Linked DNA regions of Homo sapiens: region 2 is linked to region 1. Evidence: promoter capture Hi-C in 16 types of primary human blood cells and fetal thymus (Javierre and others, 2016). All regions are on one chromosome and are shown on one strand. Each heading gives the region's core, a stretch centred on a gene start or on the middle of the fragment in contact. The rest is flanking DNA. Distances are from core to core; before and after follow the strand shown.

Region 1 (4,511 bases), core at 22-2,521:
GCCTGATGGGGAACTGCATCAGCTCTGTGAATTCTTGCAATCTATTGCCTGGGAAAGTGTCTTGCACATTAAACAGGTAGCCCATAAATGGATGAACGGGGGTGGGGGCAGAAGGGTGGAGGTTGGAGGGATTCATCTAATAAGGGAAACAAGCAGAACAGCCTACAAAGGCTTAAGAACGCAGAGTCCTGCTCTGCAGCCCAAGCCCCTCCGTGGGATGAAGTGCCATCAGATATTTGGTGCCATGGAGAGTTGATGAAGAAAGCCTTCCAAAAACAATGAAATTGTTTTTTAATTTATTTTAACTTTTAGAGACGAGATCTCACTATGTTGCCCAGGCTGGTTTCGAACTCCTGGGCTCAAGAGATCTTCCCACCCTGGCCTCGAAAAGTGCTGGCATCACAGGCATGAGCCACCACACGTGGCCAAGAGCAAAAGTTTTAAAGCAGGACACTATGGCCTGATGGACAGGAGAGACTAGGGTCCCTCCTCCCTCCCAGGGGCCTGGCTTCATCTCAGAAAAACCGAGTCCCTCTTGCTCCACACCCGCATCCTTAGCTTCAGCCCTGGCAGTTGTGTTGAGCAGATGCTAAGGAGATGGGGACATTTTACCCCCTCCGCAGCCGCCCCAGAGGGTCTCAAACCCAGGGCTGATTTAGGGTTGCCCTGACATGGCCAACCCTATTCTATGTCCAAGTGTCATTCATGGCTAAAGCAGGCCAGGGCCCCAAGGCAACCAAGCTCCTCTCTCCTCTGCCCGCTCCCACACACCCTCCTCTGCCCCAGTGTTCCTATCATTACGTCCTGGGCATTGAAACCCGGGCCATTCTTGGACCAGGGCTGTGGGCTGAATGAGGGCAGGAAGAACAGGGTCAATGGGAAAGGACAGCCCAGAAAAGAGAATTCACCACCACCTGTGGTCTCCCACTGCTTTGGTAGGAACCTTGTAAACACAGCAGCAGCCCCCAGGAAAGTCTTGGAAGAAGGGAGAAGCTGATCAGATTTAGAGACTGAGACATCTGGGCCTCCAACCCAAGGCTCCCCGGGCCCTAAAAAGCCAGACTCCCGTCTCCTTAGCCCTTTCCCTCACCGACCAGCAGGTGGCACCACAAACAGGGATTTCAAAACCAAAACTAAATTAAAGTGGAAACTCAGATCTTTTGTTTATGCAAATAGTTCATTCCCTCCAACATTCCTCCGGGAATGGTCCCCCCTCCACTCCACAGAAAACCCTCCCCTCCCTGCTGTGCATGACGCGGGCTCCCTCTGCACACAGTGCACGAAGACGCTGTCGGGAGAGCCCAGGATTCAACACGGGCCTTGAGAAATGTGAGTAAGGGTGATGGGCAACCAGGTGGGAGGGAGAAGCCAGGGGAGAAGCCAGGGCATGGGAGGCAATTCAGGGAGACAGGAACACCCTTCTCTCTTCACACACCTCATCAGTTCCACTGTGCACACGCGTGGACACACACAACACACGCCCCATCCCTCCTCCTAGGGATCAGAGGAGACTTCATACATAGATGCTCATGCCATGGTCCTTTCTTCCCTCTGGGCTCTTGGCAGGGAGCAGCGAGAGGAGGGGACCCCTTGCCCAGGACGGGACACTCTGTGCCTGTGTCCCCCACTCCACAGATGGTTTCTCCCAGACGCTCTTGCTGAACCTGTGGGAGCCCTTTCAGAGACCCACGGGTGGAAACCCTCACCCTCCATTAACTGGTCCCAAGCCAGTCCTATTCCTGGAAGGGGAGGGGAGGGACGCGTCCGGGCAGGGGAGGAGGCTGGAAAGGGAGTGTGAGGGGAGTGTGGTGGCCTCTGGACTGGACACTGCCCTGGAGAGTGACCCGATGCAGCAGCTGCACAGGCCATCCTCCCCACCCACGCACCCCTGCTGAGAACATGTCTGTGAGGTTCAGGGTGGGCAGAGAGGAGAATGCCCAGTGGTATGGCCGTCTCATCCCCTGCCACAGCCACTGCCCACATGGCAAGAGTGCTGAACCCCTCCAGCTCCAGATACTCTCTTTTGTTTTGGCAGGTGGCTCTTGTACCTCCTGGTGCCGGCCCTGTTCTGCAGGGCAGGAGGCTCCATTCCCATCCCTCAGAAGTTATTTGGGGAGGTGACTTCCCCTCTGTTCCCCAAGCCTTACCCCAACAACTTTGAAACAACCACTGTGATCACAGTCCCCACGGGATACAGGGTGAAGCTCGTCTTCCAGCAGTTTGACCTGGAGCCTTCTGAAGGCTGCTTCTATGATTATGTCAAGGTAGGGGCAGGATGGGCGGGCAGAGGGGAGACAAAACTGGGCCCTCTGGGATCTGGGATCTGTATGGCATGCACACCCCCAGACACAGCCCAGCCCCACAAGAGCTGATGGCCAACGGCCTCTCTGAGAGCCCGGGGATGCCCTGGATGGGCGCTCACTGGTGTAGAGGCCCTCGGTGAGCACTGAGGGGAGAAGCACAGAGAAGGAAGGGGACAGGACCCACTCAGGAAATTCAACATCCACTGAGTCAGGAAAACCTTCCCCATCTGCTGTCTAGCTGAGAGTCTTTGGGAAACCACTGTGCCTCAGCTTCCCTGTCTCCAAGGAAATGATTGACATGGCTGCCTGCTTCAACAGGAACACAGGGACATGAGGAGGAGAAATGTGGGCTCTGGCAGCACAGGAATAGCCTTCAGCAAGGACAGTGTGCTCAGAACCCTCACCTCTGTGGCAACCAAGGGTACCTTCCCAGGCCTGTCTTTCTCTATCCAGTAAAAATGAGATTCAGGGCTCAAGCAGAGCCTGCGAAGGTCCAACAACTACCATTCCCAGGAGACCCCTGGAGATTATGCGTGAATTACATGACAATGGCACGTCTTACCGGCTCAGAAGACTTGGCGAGTGTGCAGTGTTGGGGGAGGGCGTTTGCTGGCAGAGTCAAGGAGAGGTTGAGGAGGCTGTGAGGAGGAAGGAAGAGGGACGAGGCAGTGCCTGCTGACACTGAGATGGGTGGGCTTCAGGGCTCATGTTCCGCCGAGGGCATCAGGAGGCACTCGAGGTGTGAATGGTTTGATTAGGCTGAGGTGGAATCTGAAGACAGAAAATAAAGCGGAGCTGTCTGAGCTCTGGGAATGAGGGGCAGGTAAAGGCTGGGTACAGACAACCAGGACCCCAGGGGAACAGGCCATAGGAGGTGGTGGGGATGGAGAAGGACCTGAAACCTGCCAGAGGAGCAGAAAACAGGGAAAGGGTGAGGTACCCAGTCCAGGACAACACGCAAAGAGTGAGTCAGTGGGAGACTCAGGGAACAGCTGAAAGTCACATGGGGAAGTTTGCAGCAGCTGAGCCCAGCAGGTAGTGACCAGCCAGAGCCATTGTGGTGCATGATGCACTCTGGGCGAGACAAGGAGGACCATCACTGAGCCACCACGTGCGCCACTCCGCAACAGATCTTCTTCCTACCCCCTGTCCTTCTTCCACCAGATCTCTGCTGATAAGAAAAGCCTGGGGAGGTTCTGTGGGCAACTGGGTTCTCCACTGGGCAACCCCCCGGGAAAGAAGGAATTTATGTCCCAAGGGAACAAGATGCTGCTGACCTTCCACACAGACTTCTCCAACGAGGAGAATGGGACCATCATGTTCTACAAGGGCTTCCTGGCCTACTACCAAGCTGTGGGTGAGTAGCCCCCCAGGGATCCCTTTTCTCTGACCTCAGCCATATTGAATGGGGGGCCAAGAAAGGGAATCTTGAATGCAAAGAAGCCGAAAGCCTGGCTTTCCTTGTTCCTCCCCTCGAGAGAGCTTTTCCTAACGAGGCCTGTCAACCTGGGCTCTGTCCCCATGGAGCAGTCCCCAGAGAGCATTGGAGAGGCCTGGAGGTCCAGGTGGCCTAAAGATGCCTTTGTCTTTAGGTCTCTGGTGAGTGACCTCCCTAAGATCAGAGCCACTACTCAGGTCTCCCAGCAGAAGCTTAACCCTCCTTCCTGAATGCCTTCCAGACCTTGATGAATGTGCTTCCCGGAGCAAATCAGGGGAGGAGGATCCCCAGCCCCAGTGCCAGCACCTGTGTCACAACTACGTTGGAGGCTACTTCTGTTCCTGCCGTCCAGGCTATGAGCTTCAGGAAGACAGGCATTCCTGCCAGGGTGAGCCAGAGTGGTGTAGCAGAGGGGAAGGGGTTGAGCCAGGGCTTGCTGGGCCAGCTGGAGTCCCCCGTAATGCCCTGTGGCTCTGCTCTCACAGCTGAGTGCAGCAGCGAGCTGTACACGGAGGCATCAGGCTACATCTCCAGCCTGGAGTACCCTCGGTCCTACCCCCCTGACCTGCGCTGCAACTACAGCATCCGGGTGGAGCGGGGCCTCACCCTGCACCTCAAGTTCCTGGAGCCTTTTGATATTGATGACCACCAGCAAGTACACTGCCCCTATGACCAGCTACAGGTACAGCCGTCCTACCCCTGAAAGACCCCTTCCTCCCCTTCTGTCTGCACTTGGCTCCTCTTGTCCCAACTTCCTCCTGGATCCCCTG
Region 2 (5,090 bases), core at 320-2,819, 51 kb after region 1:
CATTTCAAAAAATAAAAATTAAAAAATAAATAAATAATGGTAATACAATGAGACGAGAATGGCACTTACCTCTGAGATCTTCCTCCCCAAAAGCCATAATCCCTGTATAATCATGAGAAAAACATCTGACAAATTCCAGTAGGGGGCATCCTATAATACTCTTTCCCAGTACTCCTCAAAACTTCGAGGTCATCATAATCAAGGAAGGTCTGAGAAAGTGTAACAGCCAGGAGGAGCCTAGGAGACATGAAAACTAAACGTAATGTGGTATTCTGGAGGAGGCCCTGGAACAGGAAAACGACATTAGGTAAAAACTAAGGGAATCTGAATAAATTATGGACATTAGTTAATAGTAATGTATCAACATCACTTCCATGATTGTAACAAATGTTCCACCCTAATGTAGACATTAATAATGGGGAAACCGTGTAGGAGCTGTATGGGAATTCTCTGTACTATACGCTCAATTTTTCTGTAAATCTAAAACTGCCCTATAAAAATAAAGTCTATTTTTAGAAAGTTATTCCAGCAAGCAGAAGAAAGATGTCAGACATATTTTTTCTATACTCACAAAAGTTAAAGCATGGACTTTTTCAAAAAAAAGATACAAGGGAGAATAACAGATGCATATTTTTAGAGAGAAAAAAGTGATGTGGTAGAACTTAACTGAGAAATTGGAAATAACAGGAAAGCCACCACAAAAATGAAAAGTTCATTATAGAAACAGCAAGAAGTCAAATACATACTATGAAAACATAGATAGTACATGGAGGCCAGTCTTGAAAAAAATCACCCAAAACAAAATGGAAAAGTGCAAAGGGATAAAATCGCAGAGACGCTGATGAAAATGGATCAAGGAGATACATGATTGGTGTTTTGAGAAAAGAATATAACAACTGGAATGGGAAAGTATTCAAAGATATGGTTGAGTATGGGCATGGTGGCTCACGCCTGTAATCCCAGCTCTTTGGGAGGCCAAAGCAGGCAGATTACCTGAGGTCAGGAGTTCAAGATCAGCCTGGCCAACATGGTGAAACCCCATCTCTACTAAAAATACAAAAATTAGCCAGGTGTGGTGGTGCACACCTGTAATCCCAGCTACTCCAGAGGCTGAGACAGGAGAATCGCTTGAACTTGGGAGGCGGAGGTTGCAGTGAGCTGAGATCACGCCACTGCACTCCAGCCTGGGTGACAGAATGAGACTCTGTCACCAAAAAAAAGTATATATATATATTTATATATTTTTATATATATGGTTGAAGATTTCTGTCAAATAAATGAACTGAAATCTTTAGATAAAAGGGCACTCTTACAGGAAAATAATGACAAAGAATCATTAACACTGAAGCCAATCCTGGAGATCCTAAATGACAAGGATAATGTAAAGAATATGGGACAGTGGTTTCCTTCCCCAAGAGTGTGCAGATGCTTGGGTGCAAAGGCCTATTTCTCTTCAGCCCCAGTTCACCCCACAGACCGAGGGCGGGCCTCGCCATCAGGACCCAGTGGCCATGTCCTGATGCAAGCTGCGACGGTCATTGTCCTCCAGAACAGGGATGGAGAAAATACCAGCCCAGGAAGCAGCAGGCTCACCAAGGGTCCGATTTCAGTTTTTGGAGACCCAGTCTGAGAGTCTGACTCCAAAGCCTCATTTTGTGCAGGACACCGACATGGAACAGGGACTCACTAGGGTTCCACCTGTTCCCCAGGTGCCTGCCTTTCCCCATGAGGACAGCCCAGGAGATCAGGCAGCTGCGCTCCTGACAGCCAGGTATCAGCAGTTTGTGACATCTGAGGATGTGGCTGTGCACCTTACTCAAGAGGAATGGAGATACCTGGACCTTGTTCAGAGGGAACTCTACAGAGATGTGAGGTTAGAGAATTATGGGAATGTGGTCCCACCAGGCATACTTCTCCCCCTTCCACCAGATTCATAGTGTGAATTTTTGCCCGGCCCTGAGTCATACCCAGGCAAGTGCTTTCTCTGGAGAAACTTAGTCCTTACAGCAGGAATCTCCAAGAGATGGCCCAAGTATTACCTGCTCAGAAACTCCTTTTCCATGATTGCCAGATATTAAACTTAACTGATGCGATAGATGCCCCCTAGGATGCCACCACTATGTAAAATCGCAGCTCCTCGAATTACCTTTGTTAAATTTCTAGTATCAGAGTCCAAGGAAGCCCCCTGCTGCAACCAGATGCACTTTGAACTCAGTTTATTCAGAAACCATGGTTGGTGGTCATCTTCTACTTGTGTTCTGAGAAACCACAAAATTCAACTTCAGCTCTTCAGTTATGATATTGTCATATTATTTTAGAATGTGAAACATATGCCGTGTGCCCCTCCTTTTATGTAGTGAATACAACCTGCCCCTTATGGTGGTTAACTCCCTGTCACCCCTGGGCTTTCCTCACGTTTAACACTCTGGTTTTCTCCTTCCTGAAGTCCCTGTGGCCCTCTTCAGGGTCCTACCCTCCTCCCCTTTATTCTTTGCAGTTCTGTACAGATTGATGCACTTATATTGCCTTTTCTGATTAAATGTTCCTTAGTCTTTCCTTGATGGAGGGGAGAAGGGAGGACAAAGAAGTTAAATTTTATTTTGGGGCATCAAAACAAATGTCTACTTAGTAACTTTGTAAACTGTAAAGTGATATATATAATTGTGAAGTACTATTAATTTTACCTAATAATTACAGAGTGTTCAACAGTTTAAAAAAAAAAAAAAGAATGCTGGCCAGGTGCAGTGGGTCACGCCTGTAATCCCAGCACTTTGGGAGGCTGAGGCAGGAGGATGGCTTGAGACCAGGAATTCAAGACCAACCTGAGCAACATAATGAGACACTGTCTCTATAAAAAAAAAAGAATAATGTTATAGAAAACCAAACAGAGAAGCCAGGTGCGGTGGCTCAACGCCTGTAATCCCAGCACTTTGGGAGGCCGAGGCAGGCAGATCACGAGGTCAGGAGATCAAGACCATCCTGGCTAACACGGTGAAACCCTGTCTCTACTAAAAATACAAAAAAATTAGCCGGGTGTGGTGGCGGGCGCCTGTAGTCCCAGCTACTCAGGAGGCTGAGGCAGGAGAATGGCGTGAACCTGGGAGGCAGGGCTTGCAGTGAGCCGAGATCGTGCCACTGCACTGCAGCCTGGGCCGGGTGTGGTGGTGCACACCTGTAATCTCAGCTACTCCGGAGCCTGAGGCAGAATTGCTTGAACCAGGGAGGCAGAGATTGCAGGGAGTCAAGATCACGCCATTGCACTCCAGCCTGGGCAACAAGAGCAAGACTCCATCTAAAAAAAAAAAGAAAGAAAAAGAAAGGAAAGAAAGAAAGAGCAAAGAAAAGGTAGGAAAAATCTTTGGGACCTGGGAGTCATTGAGGAATTCTTAACCATGACACCAAAATCAGATCCTTAAAAAGGAAAATTGATAAATCAGACTTCACCAAATTTGAAAAGAAAAAAACCTTTTCTCTGCAAAACCCCCCTTAAGAGGATGTAAAAGATAAGCGATGGACTGGGACAAAATATTTACAAACCACACACACACAAAAGCCTTGCATCTAGAACATGTAAGAACAAGTCGCAGCTGGGAGCAAGACTAAGAGGATGAGCAATGGCAGACTTGCCCGGCTGCAACAATGCTCCACGAGTGAGGGGCCGCTGCTCGCTGGCCCCACACGTCCAAGGCAGCTCTCGTGGCCTCCAGCTAACAGTGCCACCCAGGGTCAAACCGAGGGCAGAAGGCTCAGCCTTATGCTGGAAACCCAACCTTGGCACCTCCCGTGTTCCTTGTGGGAACATCTGCTCCTGCAGAAGGCAGAAAAGGTTGAGGCAGGAAGCTGTGCGGATGGAATTGAGAAAGAAGTAACCGAGAGTGTGCAGTGAAGGGAGGGAGGGAGCCCCCTGCACGGCAAGGTGGTAGCCGAGTACTCCAGAGAAGAGGACCTGGGCTCTGCCCAGTCCTAGAGCGTCAGATGGTGACACTCTGATGCTAAGGCACACTCATTTTATTATTTCTAACGTCAGGGTGCGCCTTATAATCAACAAACCACAAAGGAGATCATAAGCCACACTCACGAGAATTAAGAAGTTAATTGAAAAATATTCCTTGTCCTTGCTCATTGTGGCTCAGCGGGTCAGACTCACCCTGCAAACACAATCACTAGAAAAGGTGCATCTCCAAGGGAAACGCCAACCTTTCCTATCACTCCACGGCCCCAGAGAAAGCCCAAATACAAACACAACCAGGCCCGCCAGGCCTCTCTCCAGTTCCTGACCAGCAACTCTAGATCCCCGGGCGGGGTTCAGCTGCCCTTCCCGACTGCCACTCAGAATAACGAACAAAGCCTGCCGACCCGCCTGAACATGGCAGGGGAACGGCGGTTCCGTCTGTGTAAGACACGCTGCTGCCTCGCAGTGTTTCCGGAATTGGTGAATTTTTGGTCTCACTAACTTCAAGAATGAAGCCGCAGACCGTCGCGGTGAGTGTTACAGCTTTTAAGGTGGTGCGTCTGGAGTCTGTCCCTTCAGATGTTCAGATGTGTTCGGAGTTTTTTCCTCTTGGTGGGTTCGTGGTCTCGCTGGCTCAGGAGTGAAGCTGCAGACCTTCGCGGTGAGTGTCACAGCTCTTAAGACAGCCCGTCTGTAATTACTCGTTTTTCCCTATGGGCTCGTGGTCTGGCTGGGCTCAGGACTGAAGCTACGGATCTTTGCGGTGAGTGTTACAGCTCATAAAAACAGCGTGGACCCAAACAGTAACAAAATTTATTGCGAAGAGCTAAAGAACAAAGCTTTCACAGCGCGGAAAGGAACCCGAGCGGGTTGTCCATACTGGTTTGGGCAGCCTGCTTTTATTCTCTTATCTGGCCCCACCCACATCCTGCTGATTGGTAGAGCCGAGTGGCCTGTTTTGTCAGGGCGCTGATTGGTGCGTTTACAATCCCTGAGCTAGATATGAAGGTTCTCCACGTCCCCATCAGATTAGTTAGATGCAGAGTTTCGACACACAGGTTCTCCAAGGCCCCACCAGAGCAGCTAGATAGAGAGTGTCGATTGGTGCATTCACAAACCTTGAGCTAAACACAGGGTG

The links. Contacts are between HindIII fragments. The CHiCAGO score rates a contact against its expected background, and 5 or more counts as called.
Region 2: a contact is called between a fragment that was not itself captured here and the fragment with the promoter of C1R in region 1, in 9 of 17 cell types (megakaryocytes, M2 macrophages, M0 macrophages and 6 more). The highest score is 9.0, in megakaryocytes.

What each region holds. Positions count from the first base shown.
Region 1 is chr12:7,089,205-7,093,715 of GRCh38, reverse strand. It overlaps C1R (complement C1r), which reads left to right and starts at 1,271. Exons shown (of 11, transcript NM_001733.7): 1 at 1,271-1,329; 2 at 2,036-2,264; 3 at 3,468-3,660; 4 at 3,983-4,129; 5 at 4,227-4,423. The coding sequence starts at 1,328. RefSeq lists an enhancer at 929-1,223. The HindIII fragment of the contact is 12,054 bases long and covers 1-3,955 here.
Region 2 is chr12:7,038,108-7,043,197 of GRCh38, reverse strand. It overlaps the pseudogene LOC100419825. Among named protein-coding and RNA genes, the nearest start is that of C1S, 20 kb to the left of the region's middle. The HindIII fragment of the contact is 6,449 bases long and covers 1-4,793 here.